Regions from separate parts of the Homo sapiens genome. Here region 1 is linked to region 2. Evidence: promoter capture Hi-C in human tissues and cell types (Jung and others, 2019). All regions are on one chromosome and are shown on one strand. The core of a region is centred on a gene start or on the middle of the fragment in contact, and the rest is flanking DNA. Distances in the headings are between cores, read along the strand shown.

What was found. The method cuts DNA at HindIII sites, captures the fragments that hold promoters and counts their contacts. A contact is called where the count stands out against the background at its distance.
Region 1: a fragment that was not itself captured here is called in contact with the fragment with the promoter of RAB10 in region 2 in 3 of the 25 tissues and cell types used here (H1 embryonic stem cells, liver and pancreas).

The regions. Positions count from the first base shown.
Region 1 is chr2:26,081,906-26,084,605 of GRCh38, forward strand. The region is part of intron 1 of RAB10 (RAB10, member RAS oncogene family); the gene reads left to right. The region is part of intron 1 of LOC105374333 (a long non-coding RNA gene); the gene reads left to right. Among named protein-coding and RNA genes, the nearest start is that of RAB10, 49 kb to the left of the region's middle. The HindIII fragment of the contact is 7,743 bases long and covers 1-2,700 here.
Region 2 is chr2:26,032,681-26,035,380 of GRCh38, forward strand. It overlaps RAB10 (RAB10, member RAS oncogene family), which reads left to right and starts at 1,404. Exons shown (of 6, transcript NM_016131.5): 1 at 1,404-2,055. The coding sequence starts at 1,929. It overlaps LOC124907743 (a long non-coding RNA gene), which reads right to left and starts at 1,069. Exons shown (of 2, transcript XR_007086249.1): 1 at 998-1,069. RefSeq lists a silencer at 1,070-1,299 and an enhancer at 1,610-1,659. The HindIII fragment of the contact is 17,562 bases long and covers 1-2,700 here.

The sequences.
Region 1 (2,700 bases), core at 58-2,557, 49 kb after region 2:
TGAGAGAATTTTTTACCTGTGCTTTTAAGGAATGTTAAAGGAAGTGTTTTAGCCTGAAAAAAATTATTCCGGATGGAAATCGAAACTTACACAAAAGGAATGAAGATGACAGGAAATGGTAAAAATGTGTGGAAATAGAAAATATTTCTTCTCAATTTTTAATTTATTTAAAAGATAATTGTTTACAGTAAAATATTTTAATGTTTTATAGGATTTATAGCACTTAGCAGTAAAATGTAGAAGTGTAACAAAGAAATTTTAAAAAACAATAATAGCCCAATGATGGGAAGGGGAAAAAATGGAAGTATAATTCTGTAAGGTTCTTATATTATGTTAAAAGTGGTATAATACCATTTGGAGGTAGATGGTTCTAGTTACGATGTTTATTATGAGCCTTAGAGAAACTACTAAAAAATATACTGGGCACATCTAATCAGCGACCAAATCTTAAAGTTGGAGTGCTATATTAATATTAGACAAGGTAGATTTTAGAGCAAGGAGTATATTTCTAGAAATAAAGAGGATCTTTTTATAATGATAAAGGGGTCAGTTTGTCATATATACCTAATAACAGAATATCAAAATACTTGAGGCAAAAACTGACAGAATTGGAAGGAGAAATAATCTATAATTGTATAGTTGGATATTTTAACAGTCCTCTCTTAGTAATTGATAGAATAAGTAGACATATATTTAAGAAATGAGATCTTAATTTAAAACCTTTCTGAAAGAAACCTCAGGCCCAAATGGCTTCACTGGTGATTTATATCAAATGTTTAAAGAAGAAACAATATGAATCTTAAACTCTTCCAATAAATGCAAGAGGGTATGCTTTCCAAGTTGTTTTATGGGATCAGCCTTGTCTTGGATACTAAAACTAAAGATATGACCTATCCCTAATGAACATAGAGATTTTTTTCAAGAACATAATAATTATTAACTAAATAATTGCAAACCAAATCCAGGAATTTATGAAAAGAATAATACATCATGACTCAAATGGACTTTATTCCAGGAATGCAAGGTTGGTTTCACATTTAAAATCAAAGTAATTAGCTGCCTTAATGGAGTAAAGAAGAAAAATCATACCATCATAGTAGGCATAGACAAAGCATTTGATGAAATACACCTCATGATAACTCAGGAATCTAGGAACAGGAACATTTGTTTAATGTGCTAAATTTTGTACAGTTAACACACTTTAATGGCAGAGCATTTAGTCTAGAGCTTCCTAAGGTCAAATAAAGAACAACAGTATATTAGAGGTTGTAGATAATAAAATAAAGCAAGAGAAATAAGTCAGAAGATGTAAACGTGCCTTTATTTAGACTGTGTTGTTATATACATAGAAAATCCTAAATAACCTACCTTCTCCACAAAAAAAGAGCAACTAGAATTAATAAGTGAATGTAACAGGTTGCAGGATACAAGGTCAGTGTACCAAAACCAATTGTATTATTTTTCTTTTTTCTCTTTTCTCTCTTCTCTCCCCTCCCCTCCCTTCCCCCTCAGCTTTCCCCTCTTCCCTCCCCTCCCCCAAAACCTTCCCCTCCTTTCTCCTTTCCTTCCCTGTACTTTCCTTTTGTCTCACTCTGTCACCCAGGCTGGAGTGCAGTGGCACCATATCAGCTCACTGCAACCTCCGCCTCCCAGGTTCTAGCAATTCTTATGCCACAGCCTCTGCAGTAGCCGGGATTACAAGTGTGTGCCACCACACCCGGTTAATTTTTTGTATGCTAGTAGCTGGGATTACAGGTGTGTGCCACCACACTGGGCTAATTTTTTGTATCTTTAGTAGAGACTGGGTTTTGCTGTGTTGGCCAGGCTGGTCTCGAACTCCTGGCCTCAAGTGATCTGCCCACGCCGGCCCCACAAAGTGCTGGGATTACAGGCGTGAGCAGCTGCACCTGCTTAATCAATTGGAGTTCTGTGTTTAGCAGCAAACAATGAGAAAATGAAATGTAAAAATATATTATTTACAATAGCATCCAACAAATGAAAATGAAATGGGGATAAATTTTAAAAATATATGCAAGGCTTAGACATGGAAAACTACAAAATATCGCTGAGAGAACTAAAGACAGCCCAAATAAAGAGAGCTATACCGTATTCATGGATTAGAAGGCTCACATCACTCTGCTCAAAATGCTCCCTGTGTTTCTTGAACATGCCAAACATATTTGCATGTCAAATCCATTGTACTTGTTATTTTCTCTGCCTGGAACACTCTCCCCAAATAGTCACATGGCCTGTTCCCTTACCTTAAGGTCTTTGCTCAAATATCTCTCAGTGCGTCATTCCTTGACCACCTCATATAAGATAGCTCTTCCTCCTGTTCTTGTTCATAGGATTTATTATTACTAACATCAGAGATTTGAAATTGGGGGGAATGGGTAATACCCTTTCATAAGTTCCCCCAACAGAAGGACTTTGCCTTATTCATTGCCAAGTGTGTAGTAAGTGTGGTTTACCCTACTGAAACTCATGTTACTATAATGTGAATTAGCTTATAGCCAATTGTTAAAAAGTGAATGATATCGCAATAATGAGGAAATCATGTTGGGTCATATGTGCTTTTCCCTAGTGTATTATGTTTTGGTACATGGTACACCATGTTTTGGTACATGGTACGTGTTTTTGGTACATGGTATACCAAGTACATTATTATTACAGTTGATTGCAGCAGTATGTCCCAGAGGA
Region 2 (2,700 bases), core at 154-2,653:
AAAAAGGGTGGCGTAAACAGGACTGATGGGGAGAGAGAACAGAAGGTAAAGCAAATGCAAAGAAAATGCGAGGGCCCGGGCGCGGGGGCTAACGCCTGTAATCCCAGCACTTTGGGAGGCCGGGGCGGGCGGGTCACCTGTCAGGTGTTCGACACCAGCCTGACTAACAGGGTGAAACCCCGTCTCTACTAAATACAAAAAATTAGCCGGGCGTGGTAGCACATGCCTGTAATCCCAGCTACTTGGGAGGCCGAGGCAGGAGAATCACTTGAACCCAGGTGGTGGAGGTTGCAGTGAGCAGAGATTGTGCCATTGCACTCTAGCCTGGGCAACAAGAGCGAAACTCCATCTCAAAAAAAAAAAAAAAAAGAAAGAAAAGAAAAAAAGAAAAAGAAAATGCGAGGAAACGAGCGAAACTCCATCTCAAAAAAAAAAAAAAAAAAAAGAAAGAAAAGAAAAAAAGAAAAAGAAAATGCGAGGAAGCAGGCTGTGTCGGACTGGGAGTAGGCTTGACCACCTTTCAATTTTCAACCCAGTGGTACGACGCTGGCGGCAGGCAGAGGCCCCACCTCCTCTGCAGAGCGCTCTCGGGTTCTCCCGGATTCCTGAAGGACGGCAAAGGCCTGAAGCAGGTTCTCTGAGCACCGCACAGAACCCTCCACTTCGCAGGGAGGTTCTTCCTGCGCCCAGGTGTTCCTCAACCTTCCTCTCCTCGCCCAGGAAGAGGTTGTGAGGATTACCTCATCCCAACCCGAGCGGCGTGGCCAGCTTTTCCATCTCAAACTCTTGCTCTTGAAGTCAATCCGGATGGAGCGCTCATGTTTCCCCGTCAGGGCTGGCCCTGGAGAGGGGGCACGCCGGGAGGCGTCTCGTTCTAGCAAAGAGGCTATTAAATGACCCAGGGCGCGGCTTTTTCTCGCGTTTACGAGCTCCACCTACACGGGAACACATGGCCACCCAAGCCCGTCGCTGCGCCAAGACCTCCAGCTCAACACACCCGACAAGCGCTGTGCAGAGAAACCGCAGCGCAGTCCAGCGGGAGACCCCGGGAGGGGAAGGAGGTGCTGGGCTCTGTAAGGGTGTCCCGGGGAGCGGGGAGCGGGAGGCGGGAGGCGGGGGTCGGAGGGGGGGCGCTGCGCCTGCGCAGTCGCTAGGTAGCGTCTCCCCCGGGGCGTGCTCGTAACGCCGCGCACCCTATCAGGCGGCCACAGGGAGCGCGCCCGCGGCCTCGCCCTTTCTCGCCCCTCCCTTCTCCCCTCTGGGTCCAGCCTCAGACTGAGGCTTGGAGACAGGAGCATTCCACTCGCCACTTCGGCGCGCCCCCATGCCCTCTTGTGCGCGTGCGCAGAGGCGGACCGCAAGGCTAGGGCGTGAGGGAAGGGCGGGCGTACGCCCTTGCGTGCGTCTCAGGCAGCGCGCACGCCGGCGTGAGAGGGCACGGGGAAAAGGTGGCTCTGGCCGGGGTGGCTCGGTTTCCTGGGGCTATGTAACTGAGCTCGTCGACTTAGGGGTCCTTCTTCGCTGCCCTCGCCGCGTGCTAGCAGGGAGTTTCCGCTCGGGAGAGAGACTGTCCTCACGCCCGCTGCGCCTCCTCGACGGCAGAGCAGGCTTGCTCGCCCGTGGGAGCGTCCCGGCCGAGAAGCCCTGAGGGGGGAGGGGAGGCCATTTTGTCCCGACCGACTCCCCGGAACCGGGCGGACGGGCTGGGAGAGGCTGCGGAGCCGCGGTCGCCGCCCTCGGAGGCACTGGACGCCGCCACTGTCGGGGCTTCCTCAAAGCTGTTCGTAGGTCGCCCGCGCCGTCTCGAGCCTTTTTCCCACGCTTCCCCGGTCCTCCGGCCTGAGAACGCCCGAGTGAGGAGTTGGCCGTAGTGAGAGGGACCGATCCCTTGGGGCCGCCGGCGGCGAGAGCCCGAGCCGCTCCTCCCAATGGCGAAGAAGACGTACGACCTGCTTTTCAAGCTGCTCCTGATCGGGGATTCCGGAGTGGGGAAGACCTGCGTCCTTTTTCGTTTTTCGGATGATGCCTTCAATACTACCTTTATTTCCACCATAGGTAAGACCTGTGGGAGGACGGTGTACGGTCTCGGTAGCTGCATACCGTTTATTTTACTCCAGACATCTTGCTTCCCGTAATATACGCCTTTGTTTCAGTGATTCCGATTCCAAACGACACATCCAAGTTACTGTTTGAATCGGCATCGAGCTTACTGGGGCGGGGTCTTCCCATGATTTCCATCCGGTCTTTTGCTTTCGAGTCTCCCACTATGCTCAGTGCCTTCTGTTACAAAATATGCATCATTTAACCATGTTCCAGAACCTTATTTCTTCAGGCGACTGGACTGGCTTTTTCCACATTTGCGTGGAATTAGTAGATGTGTGATATTTTTAAGGTATTTATTTCAGTGGTTGCGATTGAAGCAGTACTAGCTATTTGGGAAAGGCCTGAATTTATACTTTGGGGCAAAGAAAAGATTCCATATGGTGATAACTTAGAGTAAACTTGAGGGTTTCTGAGAAGAATAATTAAGGTAAATTAGAAGGGAAGAGTGAGTTGCCCTCATTCACTAATCCATTGATGTGTCAAACAATCGGAGGCTCTTCGCGCTTGGGGTGGGACTCTGGCATATTTGCCTCAGTGCTTTTCGAGACATCAACAGAAGCAGTAATCTGAGGGAGATGATCAGTTTCTGTCCTCAAA